Regions from separate parts of the Homo sapiens genome. Here regions 1, 3, 4, 5 and 6 are each linked to region 2. The links are contacts of gene promoters, found by promoter capture Hi-C in blood cells and fetal thymus (Javierre and others, 2016). All regions are on one chromosome and are shown on one strand. The core of a region is centred on a gene start or on the middle of the fragment in contact, and the rest is flanking DNA. Distances in the headings are between cores, read along the strand shown.

Evidence for each region. Contacts are between HindIII fragments. The CHiCAGO score rates a contact against its expected background, and 5 or more counts as called.
Region 1: a contact is called between the fragment with the promoter of ARPC1A here and the fragment with the promoter of ZSCAN25 in region 2, in 1 of 17 cell types (neutrophils). The highest score is 5.3, in neutrophils.
Region 3: a fragment that was not itself captured here is called in contact with the fragment with the promoter of ZSCAN25 in region 2 in 5 of 17 cell types (erythroblasts, M1 macrophages, M0 macrophages and 2 more); the score reaches 10.7 in erythroblasts.
Region 4: a contact is called between a fragment that was not itself captured here and the fragment with the promoter of ZSCAN25 in region 2, in 7 of 17 cell types (erythroblasts, fetal thymus, naive CD8 T cells and 4 more). The highest score is 7.5, in erythroblasts.
Region 5: the fragment with the promoter of AZGP1 here is called in contact with the fragment with the promoter of ZSCAN25 in region 2 in 14 of 17 cell types (M1 macrophages, erythroblasts, M0 macrophages and 11 more); the score reaches 17.4 in M1 macrophages.
Region 6: a fragment that was not itself captured here is called in contact with the fragment with the promoter of ZSCAN25 in region 2 in 1 of 17 cell types (M1 macrophages); the score reaches 5.1 in M1 macrophages.

Annotation. Positions count from the first base shown.
Region 1 is chr7:99,324,479-99,327,506 of GRCh38, forward strand. It overlaps ARPC1A (actin related protein 2/3 complex subunit 1A), which reads left to right and starts at 1,420. Exons shown (of 10, transcript NM_006409.4): 1 at 1,420-1,526. LOC105375421 (a long non-coding RNA gene) reads right to left here and starts at 1,330. Exons shown (of 4, transcript XR_927798.3): 1 at 1,036-1,330. RefSeq lists an enhancer at 986-1,545 and a silencer at 1,521-1,700. The HindIII fragment of the contact is 5,893 bases long and covers 1-3,028 here.
Region 2 is chr7:99,615,274-99,618,243 of GRCh38, forward strand. It overlaps ZSCAN25 (zinc finger and SCAN domain containing 25), which reads left to right and starts at 1,673. Exons shown (of 8, transcript NM_145115.3): 1 at 1,673-1,743. RefSeq lists enhancers at 819-1,798, 1,389-1,708. The HindIII fragment of the contact is 2,601 bases long and covers 185-2,785 here.
Region 3 is chr7:99,898,432-99,901,131 of GRCh38, forward strand. All of the region lies in intron 5 of TRIM4 (tripartite motif containing 4), which reads right to left. Among named protein-coding and RNA genes, the nearest start is that of TRIM4, 20 kb to the right of the region's middle. The HindIII fragment of the contact is 1,756 bases long and covers 471-2,226 here.
Region 4 is chr7:100,079,385-100,082,160 of GRCh38, forward strand. ZNF3 (zinc finger protein 3) reads right to left here and starts at 2,339. Exons shown (of 6, transcript NM_032924.5): 1 at 2,251-2,339; 2 at 152-272. RefSeq lists enhancers at 2,278-2,427, 2,584-2,776 and a silencer at 2,668-2,747. The HindIII fragment of the contact is 2,766 bases long and covers 144-2,776 here.
Region 5 is chr7:99,974,653-99,977,637 of GRCh38, forward strand. AZGP1 (alpha-2-glycoprotein 1, zinc-binding) reads right to left here and starts at 1,379. Exons shown (of 4, transcript NM_001185.4): 1 at 1,293-1,379. The coding sequence starts at 1,368. The HindIII fragment of the contact is 13,516 bases long and covers 27-2,985 here.
Region 6 is chr7:99,942,567-99,945,473 of GRCh38, forward strand. No RefSeq gene overlaps it. Among named protein-coding and RNA genes, the nearest start is that of GJC3, 14 kb to the left of the region's middle. RefSeq lists an enhancer at 1,392-2,247. The HindIII fragment of the contact is 523 bases long and covers 1,253-1,775 here.

The DNA of each region.
Region 1 (3,028 bases), core at 170-2,669, 290 kb before region 2:
CAAAAATTAGCCGGGCATGGTGGCGCGCAGCTGTAGTCCCAGCTACTCGGGAGGCTGAGGCAGGAGAATCGCTTGAACCCGGGAGGCGGAGGTTACAGTGAGCCGAGATCGCGCCACTGCACTCCAGCTTGGGCGACAGAGAAAGGCTCCGTCTCAAAAAGATCACAGCGGGTCTGAAATTGAGAGTTTGACAAGTATACCTACATAAACCTCACCTTACAATACCAAAGGGAAGGAGACAAGCCCTTGGTTGGCCTGGCATGGCGCTGGGCGGCGGCGGGGGGGAGCTCACATCGCTTTGGGAAGCAGAGGCTAGAGGATTGCTTGAGCCCAGGGGTTCAAGACCAGCCTGGACAACATAGGAAAACCTCATCTTTACAAAAAATATAAAAATTAGCCAGGCACAGTGGCTCACACCTGTAATCTGAGGGCTTTGAGAGGCCAAAGAGGGACGATCGCTTGAGCCCAGGAGTTCAAGACCAGCCTAAGCAACACAGCAAGACCCTGTCTCTACCAAAAAATAAAAATTAGCCAGGCGTGGTGGTGTGCACTTGTAGTCCCAGCTCCACGGGGGGCTGAGGCGGGAGGATCGCTTGAGCCCAGGGGTTCCAGGCTGCAGTTAGCTATGATCGCGCCACTGCACTCCAGCCTGGGCTACAGGTTGAGAACCTGTCTAAAAAAAAAGAAAAAAGAAAAGCTCTCGATTAGCCCCATCTGTGGGGGCTGGGGATGCTCCAGAATTTCTAGGGTTCAAGGGCAGCAGCCTGATTGCAGGTGGGGATCAGGGCATTTCTTGGAGGCTGCATCTGCGGGGCAGGCTCTGTCCTCTGTGAATTGGGGGCCTTGCCAAGTTCCCCCAACCCTTTTATCCCTGCTGCGCCATCTTGGGAGCAGGGAACTGCTTGGGAGCAGGGGATTCTGTCCCAGGAAGGGTCGAGAAAGTTCCTGGGGGGCTTCAGGGGCTTTCCACAGAGGGAGCACGGCGGGGGCGGAGGCTCCCTGCAGGGAGCAGCGCTGAGGTAGACTGGCTCTGACCTTGGCTCTCTGAAGGGAGAAAAACTTAATCGTTCTTCAGGTCCAAGAGCTCCAAAGACCCCCAATCCTCAGTAACTCATCTCCTGACAAAAGACCTTGCGAAACTGCCAAAGCGCCACACTTCGGCTCGCGATTGTGAGGAAATTGGTTGAGGAACGGAGTGGGACGCCCATGCCGCTTCGCCAGCACTTGCCAGGCGTTCCGTGGGGCAGCATCTCCTCTGAAGGGCCGCCGACAGTACCACGCCAATGGAACGGCGTACCCTCCTCCACTGCAGCCTGCCTAACCCCGGACTGCGCGCCCGAGCTGTGCGCATGCGCGGACCGTCCGCGCGGTCGCAACGCGCAGGCGCCGTGTCCACTTCCGGGATCTGTCAGCCGCTCCCTCTGGGCTTCCGTCCTCCGCCCGCGCCCGACGGAGCCTGTTCGCGTCGACTGCCCAGAGTCCGCGAATCCTCCGCTCCGAGCCCGTCCGGACTCCCCCGATCCCAGGTAACGGCCAGCAGGGGCGAGCGTCTCACCCTGTCGGCCTCTCTTGTCCAGGCCTGGCGCCGGACTTGCCGCGGGGGCAGTGAGACGGGGGCTCAGGCCGCGGGGCCCCGAGGCTGAGGCGCGGCCGGGTCTCCCTGCCGGGGCCTCCTGAGGGGGCGGGGATCCCCTTTCTCCGTGGATCCCCTGCAGCTTTTCTCAGGATGTTCGAGCTCCTAGCCGCCTCCGATGCCCGAATTAACGGCCCCTTCTGCGCCCCCAGGGTCCTACTTGCACCTCTGCTGGGGGCATTTGTCACCGTCTCTAAAATTGTGTCAAGTAGGAGGATCTCCCGTAATCGAGCGACCCGCGGGACTATTCATCTCTTTAGTGTCTAGAGTCGATCCCTGCATACAGTAGGCGCCCATAGGATGTTTGCCTGCTCTCTAGGGCAGCCCTCAATCCTTCGGTTAATGGGGAACCTTCTCGATCTCGAGAAAAACCTTCTCCCGAGTTCTTTTAAGATTTCCCTGCATGAGTACCGCCTTCCCCCAAGTCAAAATTGCACCCTTCTCGGCGCTCTTATTCATTTAGTGGAATCTTTTATGCCAGTCCTGGCACCACCACTTTGTTGAGTGATCCTGGGAAGATGCTTCTCTGCGCCTGTTTCCTCATCTGCAATAAAAAGATTCTTACCGTTTTGCTAAGAATCAAGTGAGCTTATTTGCATAAATTGCTTAGAATAGTTCCTGGCCGAGAGTAGGTGATCAATAAATATTAGCTATTATTACTGCTTCTGGGCATTCTATGCATATCCGTCTTCCTTTCCTTTTCTATCTCCTCCACTCTCCCCAAACACCAACCCTCCAGACTTGAAGACCAGAATGGTGTCAGCCTTATTTATGTTTCTAGCCCCATCCCGGTATTTACAACACTGCTGGGAACATGATAGGCACTTAATCAGTTATAGCTTAGAATCTTTGATTATAAAGCCATCTGTTCTCCTGCAGCTTTGGAACCTTCTGTCTATGTCAACTCGTAGCTTAAATTGCCGAGATTATCTTAGTTCTGCCCTCTCTCCTCAATTTTATCTAGTCTTGTGGTTTCACATAGGGCCTGGGTTTTCAGGTATCTAAAAACAGAGGAGGGGCATCAGTCAGGAAGGTGTTTTTGTCCTGTTAGGGAGTGGGTAACTGTGGTTGTTGTCTTCCTTTTTTTTTTTTTTCCTGCAGCCTCGACCTCCTGGGCTTAACAGATCCTCCCACCTCAGCCTCCTGAGTAGCTGGGACTACAGGCGTGTGCCACCACACTGGGCTAATTTTCATTTATTTTTATTTACTTATTTTTGGAGATAGAGTCTCACTCTGTCACCCAGACTGGAGTGCAGTGGTGTGATCTTGGCTCACTGCAACCTCCACCTCCTGGGTTCAAGCGATTCTCCTGCCTCAGCCTCCCGAGTAGCTGTGACTACAGGCATGAGCCACTGCGCCTGGCTAATTTTTTTTTTTTTTTTGTATTTTTTGTAA
Region 2 (2,970 bases), core at 423-2,922:
TGGCAAAAATTAAAGCTGGATAATGGCAGAGATGATGAGATATGGGAAATGGATGCTGTTAGGTACTGCTGGTGGAAGTGGCACCATCAAAAACAGTGGAAATAGCAGATCACAGAAAGATATCTGAGGGGACTTCAGATCTCAGAATTATCAGGCTCAACTATATTTACTATGTACAAAGAAAAGCTTAAACATATCGGTAAATTCTTTTAAAAGATCGATCTAGAATATTTGGAAAAAATCAAATAGAAATTCTAGAAATGGAAAAAATATATTAATTAAAACAAAAATATGGGTGGCCAAGTGGGGAGGATTGCTCGAGCCCAGGAGTTTAAGACTAGCCTGGGCAACATAGTGAGACCCTGTCCTTACAAAACATTTTTTAAAGATTAGCTGGGTGTGGTGGCTCATGCCTGTAGTCCCAGCTATTTGGGAAGCTGAGGTGGATTGCTTGAACCCAGGAGTTGGAAGCTGTAGTGAGCTATGATAGCACCGCTGTACTCCAGCCTAGGTGACACAGCAAGACCTCGTCTCTTAAAAAACAAAACAAAACAAAACAAAAAAACAACAACTGTGGATTTTGTAGCACATTAGAAACAGCTGAAAAGTGGATTATTAATAAAAAGGTGAAGACATAAACCCAAGTCAAATATGGGCAGACAAGAAAAATATGAAAGTGGGACAGAGACATGGAGGATAAAGTGAGATGGTCTAACACCTATGTTATATTCTAGGAGTTCATTTACTCTATAAGTGTATATTTTTAGCAAATATTGTACCAGACACTTTGCAAAGTGCTGGAGAAGAGTAAGACAAGAGGGTTTCCTGTTTCCTGAGTGGATTCTGGAGTAACACTGGGCCACCCAGTTGAGACAGACTGCCTTCAGGCTGGACGCGGTGGCTTGCGCCTGCAGTCCTAGCACTTTGGGAGGCCAAGGGGGGAAGATCGCTTGAGTCCAGAAGTTGGAGACCAGATTGGGCAACATAGAGAGATCCCCCTCTCTGCAAAAAATTGAAAAAAAGTCCCAGCTACCCAGGAGACTGAGGTGGGAGGATTGCTTGAACTCAGGGCTTCGAGGTTGCAGTGAGCTATGATCTCACCACTGCACTCCATCCTGGGAGACAGAACAAGACTTCTCTCTCTCTTTCTCAAAAAACACAAACAAACAAACAAACAAAAACCCCCCACAAAAAACAGCTCCGATGCTGGCTCCTCCAGGAAGCCTTCCCTGACTACACATACACACACGCACGCACACTACCCGGGGTCAGGAGCCTCTTAAGTGAGCCGGTTAGATCCAGTGCGCCCCCTATCTCCTCTGCCCCTACGCCTCGCGCAAGGCCCTCGCAGCCGGAATAGTCGCGCATTGACCGACTGGACTCTAAAGCCCCTTGGGGCAGGTGCTGTGTCCAGTAGTGTATCTGGCGATGCACCGAGTCCTTTCCACGGAGGGCAAGCAGGTGAAATGGCACGGAAGTGGAAGGGGCCTAGCCACAGAGCGCCTCGAGCTGGGCAGTCAATCCTGGGGAAGCCCTGGTGGTCTTCGCCTCGCCGGGTTCGGAACAGCAGGCTGGGATCAGCAACCATCGAGACGCATCCGCCGAGACCTCCGAGCATCCTAGAGAGGACACGGAAGCGAGTCTTTCCTTACGCACCTGTCTAACAGCGTCCGCAGCTCACTTCCGGACCGCGGATAGCACTGGCGACCCTAGCGGGTGAGAGGCCCTTCAGGGCCGCGGCGGGTGAGAGCCTCTTCAGGGCCGCAGCGGGTGGCGGGCGAAGTGGTAAACGGGCGCGGGGACGGGTTTTGGTGCCGCTACGGGGCTCGGCGGCAGCGGGGTTGCAGTAGAGCCCGTCTCCCTCCGCTCAGCCCCGGCTGAGGGCGGCAAGTCTCTCAGGAGCTGCCTTCAGCGGCCCCGAGGCCCTGCGGGTCTGGACGCTGAGGGGCCGCCGCGCTGTAGGCTCAGGTAGGAGCGAGGCTGATCCCGCTCTGCCAGGCTTGGCTTAGTGCAGGGCTGGCCACGAACCCGAAGAGATCTTGAACCAAAGCAGAACTCTGTGCAAAGTGAAAGTAATCACATAGGACACTTATTTAAAGAATAGTGATGAGCCAGCCTGGTCAACATAGCGAGACCCTGTCTCTACAAAAATTGAAAAGTAGCCGGGCGTGGTGGCACGCGCCTGAGGTCCCAGCTACTCGGGAGGCTGAGGCAGGAGGATCGCCTGAGCCCAGGAGTTCAAGGTTGCACTGACTTACATTCATGCCGCTGCACTCCAGCCTGGGCAACATGGGGAGACCCTGTCTCTACAAAAATAAATAATTAGCTGGTCATGGTGGCACTCGCCAGTAGTCCCAGCTACTCGGGAGGCTGAGGTGGGAGGATCGCTTGATCCTAGGAGGCAAAGGCTGCAGTGATCGCACCACTGGTCTCCAGCTGGGGTGATAAAACCCTGAGATCCTGTCTCAGAAACAAAACAAAAGAGTCACAATGGGTGGGGGGAGATAAAGAATAGCAATGGGGCAATTTCTATTTGTCAAATGGCAGAGATAAAAGATGAATGAGGATCTTTCTTGCCTCCAGGGAATCTGTTAGAGGGAGACACATGGGTAAACATTTGCACTGTAGTGCATTAAATGCACTAGTGGAGTGAACCAATGCAATAGCTAGAAAGGAATGAAAGAGAAATCTCAATGTTGCAGAGTCAATGAATAGACTGAAAATATAAACTTGGTTTAAGTGGGGGTAGATAAATACACAAACTCACAATAGAATATTTAGCAGAAGCTTTGGGGTGTGCCTCCTGCCAGCTGCCCATTCTCTGCTCCAGTCAGGTGATCTTTCCGTTTTCTGACAAGCAGGATCTCCTTCCCCTGGTGCTTTGGACTTCCAAGTCTGTCTTCCCAGTCTAGGTCTTCCGCATAATCCACTTGGAGGTAAATAGGACTCATTCTCCAGTCTACTTCAAGC
Region 3 (2,700 bases), core at 99-2,598, 280 kb after region 2:
GTCTCCACGTAGGGGCCCATGCCCTCCCCTTGGGGATGGCTACAGGTAGACGGCAACCACAGCTGGCCTTACTTACCCTAAAATTGGGCTGGTAGATGCACCTGGGGTCGTCTTCACCTGCCGGACACATTCTGTCCCATTGAGACACCATTCTTACTAACTGGGAGAGTATAAAAGCCAGGCACTTCCAGAAGTGTGCATTCTGGAGTTGCAATTTGGAGACCTCGCTAAACATATGGCTGCAGCCTTCAAGGATACCTGTGCCATGCCATTACTCTTCTCACTGGGCAACTGTGTAAAATCGCATGGCCCTGGATATCTTAACTGCTGCCCTGGGTGGAAGCTGCACATTAATTAAAACCAAATGTTGTGTATATATCCCTATTACTCTCACATTATAACCGGGGTTATGTGAACCCTAGAAACCCATATTTCAGTAAAAATTCTCTATCTTATCAAGTGCTTGGAAAAGCTTTCTGTAGAGTATGATTGCTACTATGCTTGTCATTGTCTTTTGTTGCTGTAGTTTCTAACGCTGCTGCAGCATCTGGCAGCAATGCTACTGCACATACCTTGCCTCAGGGAAGTTGCAGAGAATGACGTGATAAGAATGTGGGGGCCATTCAAGGGTATGCTGGACTGCAGTGTACGGCAGACACACCTGACAGCAGTAACTCCAGCACACCCTGAGAATAACCCTATGGTCTAAGAAGACTGTGTATTCAGAGTTCTGAGCTAAAGAATCCAGGAGTGGCCAACCCAGAAATGCACTCCTCATCTATAAAGGCCATGTGAACTCCTGGTCCATTCCTTGGAATGCAGGCAATACAGGGAATCGAGGCCCTTTCTTTTGGGTTAAATGGAAGGTCCCAGGTGGAGATTGCTAAATGAAAATGCTATATATAACCTGCATGCTTTTTACAAATAGCAGTGGTTTGTTTTCCTGTCCAGCTGGCCATTCCTGGACTGCCCTGCATGTAGGTCTTCAATAAACCCCATGTCTCATTCACTACTCCAGATCTCCTCTTCGGCCTTTCAGACACGGTGCCATCCTTAATGAAGTCAGTAGGGGACTGGCACAAGTATACACCTTTTTATCAGTCTCCCTTCAAGTGATATTATACCACTTCACACATGAGAACTGTATCATAGTATACTTTCATCTCTCCTCTCCCAATCTTCACACTACTGTCATGGATTTTACTTTTAAATATAAGTTCCAAAATACACCATATTTTGTCTGTTGAAATAGTCAATTATTAGGGTTCTCCAAAGGAACAGAACCAAAAGGATATATATGTCTGTGTCTGTGTATGGTGGGTGGGTGTGTGTGCGCACACGTGCATGCATGCACCTGTGAGTTTTCTGGGTTTTCTTTTGAGATGGGGTCTCGCTGTTGCCCATGCTGGAGTGCAGTGGTGCAATCACAGCTCACTGCGGCCTCAACCTCCTGGGCTTAAGCCATCCTCCCGCCGTGGCCTCCCAAGTAACTGGGACTACAGGCACACACCAGCACACTAATTATTTTATTTTTTGTAGAGACAGGGTCTCACTATGTTGCCCAGGCTGGCCTCAAACTCCTGGCCTCAAGCAATCCTCCTAACTCAGCCTCCCAAAGAATTGGGATTACAGATGTGAGCCACCACACCCAGCCAGTGTATAAGATTTAATATAAGGAACTGGCTTGTGTGATTATTGCTACTGACAAGTCCGAATCTGCTGTGTGAGTTGGCAGGCTCAAGACCCAGATAGAGCCAGCGTTCTAGTTGGAAGGCCATTAGGCAGGAAGAGCCAATGCTGCAGTGAAGGCCAAGGTAGTATGCTTTAGAAATCCATCAGAAAGGTCAAGCCTTTTTTTTCTATTCAAGCCTTCAACTGATTAGATGAGGCCCACCCACATTATGAAGGGCAGTCTACACAGGCTTACTGACTTAAATGTTAATCTTATCCAAAATCACCCTCAAAAAAACACCCAAAATAATTTTTGACCAATATCTGGGCACTCTGTGGCCCAGTCAAGTTGATGTATAAACTTACCATCGCAATTCCTTTTTAAAGGAATAAATAATGACAATAATATATATTTATTCGTGTCATTACCATTTCTGGTGCTCTTTTATTCCTTTGTGTAGAGAGATTTCCATCTGGCATTTTCCTTCTGTCTGAAGGACTTCCTTTAAGACTTCCTTTCTTGAAGTGTCAGTCTGCTGTAAACTCTTTCTTTTAAGCTTTAGTTTACCTCCAAACTTATTTATTTCACCTTTGTTTTTGAAGGATATTTTTTGCCAGTTCTAGAACTCTAGGTTAACAGTTTTTTTCTTTCAGGACTTTAAAGAGTTTGCTTACTGGCATTGTTTCCAATGAGAAGTGTAATGTCAACTTCGTCTTTGTTCCACTGCAAGTAACTATCCTCTCCCCTGGTTGCATTTAAGATTTTCTTTTTAACACTGGTTTCCAGCAAGTTATGATGAGCCTTGGCATATTTTTCTTCATATTTCTCATACTCAGGGTTTGTTGAGCATCTTGGATCTGTGGACTTAGTTTTTATTATATTCAGAAAATCTTTGGCCATTATGTCTTCAAGTATTTTTCCTATTCCATCTCCCTCCCCACTCCTCTCTTTCAGGGACGCCAATCACCATAGATAATAAGGCTGCATAAAGTTGTCCCACAGGTCACTGATGCTCTTTGTGTTTTTGT
Region 4 (2,776 bases), core at 277-2,776, 460 kb after region 2:
TCACAGAAAGAAAACTCTCCATTGTGCCCCCATGGCTTCAGGTCCAGACAGGGCCCTTCCCCTGCTCTGTTGCCAGCCTCACTCCCTGGTGCTGCCCGTGGGGACCGAGATAGATGGCCTGGCAGTAAGAACAAGACACGGAAAGCTTTACCTGCCTGATTCTTTCCTTCCTTCTTTGAAGTCAGTCCCTAGAAGGCCAAAGGAGCAATTACTGGGAATTTAGCAGCCTCTGTTCAAGTTCCCGGGAATTCTGACTTTTGTTGATGCCAATGCTGTGTGATTAAGGGGAAAAAAAGGAATTTAAAATATTCATGCAAACGTCTTTTTTTTTCCATGAGACAGGGTCTGACTCTGCTGCTCAGGCTGGAGTGCAGTGAGTTTGAGCTCACTCCAGACTCAAACTCCTAAGTTCAAGTGATCCTCCCAGCTCAGCCTCCCAAGGAGCTGGGACTAAAGGTGTGCACTGCCACATCTGGCTGAGTTTTTTAAAATTCTTTTTGTAGAAATGCAGCCTCACTGTGTTGCTCAGGCTGGTCTCAATCTCCTGGCCTCAAGTGATTCTCCCACCTCAGCCTCCCAAAGTGCTGGGATTACAGGCATGAGCCACCGAGTCCAGCCTAAACTTCATTTCTAATCAAGACATTTAAAGAAAAGGAAAAAAAAGAGAATACTTATTATATGCTAATAAATACCAATTAAGACCACCACCACAACTAGTATTTGCGTTGCACCCGTGGAGAGATGAAAGGGAATGGTAGGTTCTCAGGTCCACCTCCACCCAGGGTAAGAAAGTTCTAACGTTCTGTCAGCTAACTTGCTAGACACTGTGCTCCGAACTACTTCAGCAGGGGATCCACATTGCACAGCTGAGCCATTAGAAGTCTTCAGGTGATTCGCTGAAAATCTATCTCCTTGGACCTTCACCGCACAGAGACCTAGTGCATCACAGAAATTCAATGACTGGCGACCTGCAGTGGCTCACGCCTGTAACCCCAGCACTTTAGGAGGCTGAGGTGGGAGGATTACTTGAGCCCAGGAGTTCCAGGCTATGGTGAGCCATGATGGCACCACGGCACTCCAGCCGGGGGCAACAGAGCAAGACCTTAATACACACACAAACATTTTAAAAGGAAAAAAAAAAAAAAGGCCGGGCGCGGTGGCTAACGCCTGTAATCCCAACACTTTGGGAGGCCAAGGCAGGTGGATCACTTGAGGCCAGGAGTTGCAGACCAGCCTGGCCAAAAGGGCGGAACCCCGTCTCTACTAAAAATACAAAAAATTCGCCGGAGGTGGTGGCGGGCGCCTGTAGTCCCAACCACTCGGGAGGCTGAAGCAGGAGAAGCGCTTGAACCGGGAGGCGGAGGTTGCAGTGAGCCGAGATCGCGCCACTGCACTCCAGAGACAGTCTCAAAAATAAATAAAAATTAATTTTTTTAAAAAAAGAGCTTCAATAACAGAATCTTCTCCTTCCACCCGACTGTCCATCAAACACGTATAATCAAATGATGCCCACTCTCCACAGATGTCTTTTCTGGAGAAAATAATACGCTCGTTCCTCTAATTAGCCCATCGGTTTCAGGTTCATCACTCTGCTATCTTCTCCTGGAGTTTACAAAAGCCCTTCAGAGTGTAAACACCGATGTGGATTCAATCCCACTTCCGGAGAGAGGATCAAACCAGGAATCTAATACAACTGAAAACGGAGCCTGAGCCAGGTGTATCACGCGATGCACTGGGCTCCAGCAGGATTACCCCTGGAATCGGCGTCTGCACCCACTCCCAGCCCTCGTGCTAACTGCGTACGCTTAGCAGAATTTCTCTGATCCTTGGACCCAGCTGCGTAAAAATAAACTTCCTCTCCTGCCACGGGCGCGAATAACTGTGTTAACATCAAATAAAAACGTCTGGGAGAAATACCAAGTTAGGGTCGCTGTCATTAGCTGCTTTCAAGAGAGAGGCGCCCCTACCGCTCTGCTGAAACTTTTAAACGCTCCAGCTGGGTCGCCGTTAAAGTCACAAAACCAGAACCGGAGCCCCATTACTAACCCCTACGCAGGATCCCGCTAGGCTAGGGGGATCCCTGGGGAAGCGGAGTAGAGGACGGGCTGCAGGGGACGGAGGGGCGCCTCCCCGAACCCTGCTCCGGGCCGGCCGGGGGACCCTGCGGGCCGCAGTGGCACAGACACCACCCCCTTCCCCGGCGACCACAGCCTCCGTCTCACCGCGAGACCCGGGGACGCGTGGACTCACCCTGGGGGCAGGGACGACAGATTTGGGGGACCGGACACGGACCAGGCCCTGTTGGACCCTGTCACAGACCCACACACCGGGGACAGAACAAAGAACGGAAGTTCCCCCTCGTTTCGCTTCCGGGTCGGTTGTTCTTGCCACTCACCCGTACCCCCAACGCCCACTTGTTCTGTCTAGGAAAATGGGAGGTCCTCGCCTCTCTGTGGTTTGCTGACTCAGGGCGGCTGGCAGGCGGCGAGGGCAAGGAGCGCGATCGCTGACGCGGCACTCGGGGATCTTTCGCTGCGGGGGCTGGCCGGCTGCGCCCTCTGCTGGCCACGAATGTGCGAAAGCGGCCGACCACGGTCCTGGGCCTCAGGACATGTGCTCCAGCGTCGCCGGCCTTGGGGGCGGGCGGCGGGGGCGCGCGGGGATGTCGAGCCCGCGCTTCTCAGGCTGGCTCGCGAAGGGCAGCAGTAAACATACAATTATTGAAGGATTCATCAATATTAAAAAATGAACCCTGATTTAAAACTTGCCTCCGAAC
Region 5 (2,985 bases), core at 129-2,628, 360 kb after region 2:
GGATTGTCTGTAACACAAACGATAAAAGCTTGAAGGGATGGATACCTCATTTTTGATGATGTGATTATTTCACATTGCATGCCTGAATCAAAACCTCTCATGTACCCCATAAATATATACACATACTATGCACCCACAGTTTTTTTTTTAATTTACAAAAAAATCAGTAGACCTTGAGTAAAGTGGATTACTCTCCATAGTGGTGGGCTTCATCCAATCAGTTGAAGGCCTTAAGAGAAAAAGCCTCAGATGTCCCCTAAAGAGGAAAGAATTCTGCCTACAGTCTGCCCTTGGAATCAAGACTAAGACATCAACTCTTCCCTGGGTCTCCAGCCTGCTGGCCGGCTCTGAAGATTTAGGACTTGTTACTCCTCCCAATAGTGTGAGTCAATTTCTTAAAATAAATCTCTACTCTCTCTCTCTTTTGTATACATATATGTAAATCTCTTCCTATGTGTGTGTGTATCCATGTGTATACAGTGTATGTATGTATGTGTACGTACATATATATGTATATGTGTACCACCTATTAGTTCTGTTTCTCTGGAGAACCCTGAGTAATTCAGATTTTGGCACAGAATCAGATTAACATTCCAAAGTGATTGTTATATAACAAACATATAACACCTTTTCTGACAATTTGTAAATGTCATGAATTTTAAACTCACACAACTGAGAAGCCATTCGCTTCCATGTCTTTATCCTGCACATTCTCATGCCACAAACAGCCTCCTTCCCTTATCCTAGGAGTGACTCTTGATCTCCCGGAGCTCCCACTCTCTTCTCTTCCAGCCACTCGCCTTCCAGACCCACTGCAGTGGTGTCTGAGTGTGGGATTTGGGCACGGGTTTCCTTCTAGCACCATCCCTCCAGCCAACCTGCCTTCCCACTTTCCCCTTGGGGCTGCTCTCTCTTTCCCTCAGCGTCAGGCAGGTGTACCCAGCCATCGGAAGGAGGGAAGGAACAGGAGCAGAAGCAGCTCCAGGCATATGGTTCCTACTCCGTCCTGACTGTCTACCCCAAGCAGGTCGCTTGGTCTTTGGAGTCTTTGTTTTCACTGTAAACTAGGGGTTTTAGATTCAGATTCCTGAAGGTCTTATTTCGGGCCAGCGCAGAGGCTCCCTGAATGCTCCTGGAAGTGTGTGAGCTGAGGGAGTTGACAGCCTTGGGCACCCATTCCTGCCGTATGCCAGGGTATCCCAGCTGCATCCAGCCTGTCTCCCAGCCACATGTCCTGTTCCTCACCTCCTTCCAGTCCTCTCCAGCACCCATCCCTTGCTTTCCCCACTCACCATCTTGGTTCTCCTGGGGGACAGCAGGACCCAGAAGCAGCAGCAGAGACAGCAGGACAGGCACCATTCTTACCATTGTGTCTGCTTGGAGGGTTCTGGGCAGGAGGCACAGATATTATCCTGGGTCCTGGGGCCCTGCCCAGGGGAGGTGAATCTACAGGCCAATGGGAGTGCCAGGACGGGCTCCTCCCCTAATAGAGAAAAAAAAATGATACACAAGCTAGGCTGGGCAGAGGTTATGAAGAATGAATCTACACACAGGATATGCAAATTCAGAGCTGAGTCCAGAGTTGATCTCTGGACTGAGGCTTTGTGTGTGCCTGGGGTGGAAGGATGCCAGTGGGTAGGAGGTGCGTGTGATGGGTGGCAAGCGCCTGGGATGTGTCACCCTTCCAGTCTATTGTGACAACCCCTGGGCCAGTAGGGGCATTTGTGTGTTTTTGGACCACACTGTATCCCTGCCTTCCAGAAAAACTCTCAACATGTCCAAGACATGGACCTGGGTAGACCCCAGCTGGGGTGGGACCCTCACTCTCCCACATCCGATCCTGCCAGAGGCTGTGTCTGGAGGACAGTCACATTCCCATCTCTCCCTCCTTCCTTTCTGTGCCTGTGGAATCCCAGCCTTCCATGATGGAAGCAGAAATAGCCGCATCCTCCTTTTGCAGCCTCCCTGGCAACAGAACGAGCCTCCCAAAATGCTGGGATTAAAGGCGTGAGCCACCACGCCCAGCCAAGATAATTTTTAATGCATACAACAAGACTCGTTTTACACAGACGAAGCCAGTTATTTGAAAACCAGGTCTTTCCAGGCACGCTCAGTGTTGATGGGCTATTTGCAGAGAGACCCTCCGAATACAAAGCAACATGCTATTCTAAAGTGACTGGGGCCCGGGTGCGGTGACTCATGCTTGTAATCCCAGCACTTTGGGAGGCTGAGGTGGTTGGATCACCTCAGGTTGAGGTCAGGTACTCGAGACCAGCCTGGGCAACATGATGAAACCTCGTCTCTACTGAAAAAATACAAGAATTAGCTGCGCGTGGTGGCACATGCCTATAATCCCAGCACTCAGGAAGCTGAGGCAGGGGTTTCACCATGTTGGCCAAGCTGGTTTTGAACTCCTGACCTCGTGATCTGCCCGCCTCGGTCTCCCAAAGTGCTGGGTTTACTAGTGTGAGCAACTGTGCCCAGCCTCTCTTTTGGTTAAAGAAACCTACAAAGGGACCTTTTATAGTGACTTCAATTTTATGGAATAATTGTAATGCTCCTAAGGCCGTTGTGCTCCAAAGTCTAGCCGCAGGTATTGTTATTGATTGGGCTCCAAAAGGGCATTATTGGCAAGATTGCTCCAGCAAAAATACCTCATGCTCAGAGTTTAATTATTTGTTAGATTATGTAGAGGATGGATGGCAGTCATACAGGCTGAGACAATGGGTGTCCCCTTACCTATTTAAATGGATGGATGCAGGCATTACTCCTCCTAGACCAAAAATGATTCATCCCTTTGTTACCCCAGAACATCCTCAACTATGAAAATTAGCTGCAGCTATGACAGGAATAAGGATATGGAACACTACCTATCAACTCCTTCACACTAATACCAAAACACCCACATTCAACATCACCCTCATATCTGAACGGGTGATACCCATCAGGAGCTATGTCAAACCCCCTTACATGCTGTTGGTTGGA
Region 6 (2,907 bases), core at 264-2,763, 330 kb after region 2:
AATTTATAGGCAGAGATTAACATATTAACTTACAAAGCAAGACCTAACAGTATGCTGCCCAAAGATAACTCACTTTAATTATAAAGGTACAAGGTTAAAAGTAAAATAATGGAAAATATACCATGCTGACACTAATCAAAAGTAACCTACAGTGACTATATTAATATCAAAGTAGATTTCAGAGCAAAAAATATTACCAGAGATAAAGAAGATATTTGATTGTTACAAATGAGTCCATTTATCAAATCCTAAATGTTTACACACGTAATAACAGAGCTTCAAAATACGTACAGCAAAAATTAATAGAAATACATGGAGAAATAGACAAATTCACAAAATAGTTAAGGAGCCAACACCCATCTCTCAAAAATTGATAGGACAAGTAGACAGAAAATCAGTAAACAAATAGAAGGCTTGAACAATACTATAAGCCAAATTGACCTAATCAACAAAATTGACAATAGAACATTCTACGCAACAATACATTCTTGTCAAGAGCACACAGAACATCTACCAAGATAGATCATGTTCTACACCATAAAATAAGCCTGGATACATGTAAAAGGATTTAAGTGATACAATATATGTCTTTGATCACAATGGAATTAATAGGGATGGTTTCAGTGCATATATATATATGTCAAAACATCACATTTTACATTTTATGTGCAGATTTTTGTATGTTACACTTTGCTAAAGCTGCTTTTAAAAATATATATAAAGAGCATGAAAAAGCAAGCCTTGTTATCAGGGATATATAAAGAACTACAAATCAATAACAAGGACAAACTTAAGAGAATATAGATGATAGTCATGAAAAGGCACTTCACAGAAGAAATCCAAATGGCCAATAGACAAATGAAACGTTTCCAGAGTCGACCCTTCCCCGCTCTGCAAAATCACTTCTCAAGAAGAAGCCACAGAGTCAGGTGTGTTCAGCACATTTTTGCTCACAACATGTGATTATATCCTTGGAAACCAAGAGTTGTGACCCCACCATTCTGGGTTACACAGATGGTCTAGCCAGAGTGACCAAAGTCCTTGTCTAAATGTCTGAAGTGGGAGTGGAAAGTGGGGAGCTGCCTAGGACCCAGGAAATAGGGGACATTTTTCAGTTGCATGAGTTTCTCCTGAGTCCTCAATGGCTCCATTTATAAATGTCCCTAACCCTGGGTCAGTGTGGGTATCGGGGGAGGAGACTAAAGTTGGTGATGGGGATTGGGGGGATGGGGATTCTGCCTAATTATTTCTAAGCTTCTGACAGCACCCTAAAGCACAAAGACAAACTTCTCTTTCACAATTATTTTCTGAGGATTAATGCCAGAAAAGAAGCCCCCAAGGGTAAAGGGAGCTCTCATTCCACTTCTTCTATCAACAATGCCCTCTTTGTCTCTCTCCTTCCCACCAGACAAGACCAGCCTCCTCCCACAGCCATACGTTGACAACACGTGCCAAGGCCTGGGGCAACAGGGTACCCAGGGTGAAGGGCTCACCCAAGAGTAGGGAGCGAAGAGAAATGTGGAAGCTCAGCACCTCTGTGCCCCAAGAACGATGATGAAGTGGCGTCATTTGTCTGGAGTAATACCCAAGATTCATTGCCTCACGCCAAGGAAATCAAGAAGGTGGAGACGCACAAGGAGGAGTTTAAGATTGGAGGTTTAATAGGCAAAAGAAAGAGAAAAAAGAAAAGCTCTCTCTCCTGCAGAGAGAGAGGGACTTCCGAGTGGGTCTTCCGGTTTTGTGGTGAAATGCACGGGGGGGGGGTTTTATAGACAAGCTTGAGGAGGCAGTGTCTGATTTACATAGGGCCCGAGAGATTAGTCAGACCAGGTGTGCCATTTGCATAGCGCACCAACAAGTTGGCCATCTCACCTTAACCTTTTATTATGCAGATGGGGTCTCTACTTGGCCATCACCACGTTGCCTGCTTTTTTACTGCAAGCGTGTTGACAAAGGAAAGGGAAGAGGGCACCTCCATGTTGAATATACCTGGCTTCCAGGTGTCCCTTTTCTATTGGCACAGCTGTTGGCATTTACCTATGCAAGCTTTTAGCTTGCTTATCTATGCTTGCAGCTTAATTTTTCAGGCTGCTTATTGTTAGAAAAGAAATTATTTGGGGGCTGCTTTTCATTAAAGGGAAATCTTACCACGGACTCTCTTACCCTCACTATCTGCCTAAATAATTTTTTTCTAGCTCCTGTATCAATGACAGAAGGGATCTTTCTTCTCCCTCCCTCTTTTCCACACCTGGGTGCATCTACCTGGTTTGGGGGAGGGTGAGCGACACAAGGAACAAAGGTTGAGAAGGAATCAGCAGAAGAAAAGGCTCAGAACTGAAAACAAAGCATCTTCCACAGAGTCAAATATAACAGCACAGGGCCTAGGATACTGTGTGACCTAGAGAAAAGGGAGCAAAGCCAGCCTTGGGCCCATCTTTCCGCAGAAATCTGGAAGAAACAAAACTATAAACTGGTGAGGTCTTAAGAGTGCACAGGTTTTAAATCTGTAATATTGACCAACAGTCAGCAAATACATTTCTTTCTCACCAGTATGGCAATGATTCAACTGAGCAACAAGTTGAAATCAAAGAACTGGTGGTACGGAGGCAGCATCCTGGTTTTATTCCATGCTCATCCCTTCCTGTTCATGCCTGGATTTTTTTAACTCTTTTTCTTTTTCTTTGTGAAACAGGGTCTCACTTTATCATCCAGGCTGGAGTGCAGTAGCACGATCTTAGGTCACTGCAACCTCAACCTCCAGGCTCAAGTGATCCTCCCACCTCAGCCTCCTGAGTAGCTGGGACAACAGGTGTACACCACCATGCTTGGCTAATTTTTTTTGTTTTTTTGTGTGGTTTTTTTTTGTTTGTTTGTTTGTTTTGAGACGGAGTCTAGCTCTGTCACCCA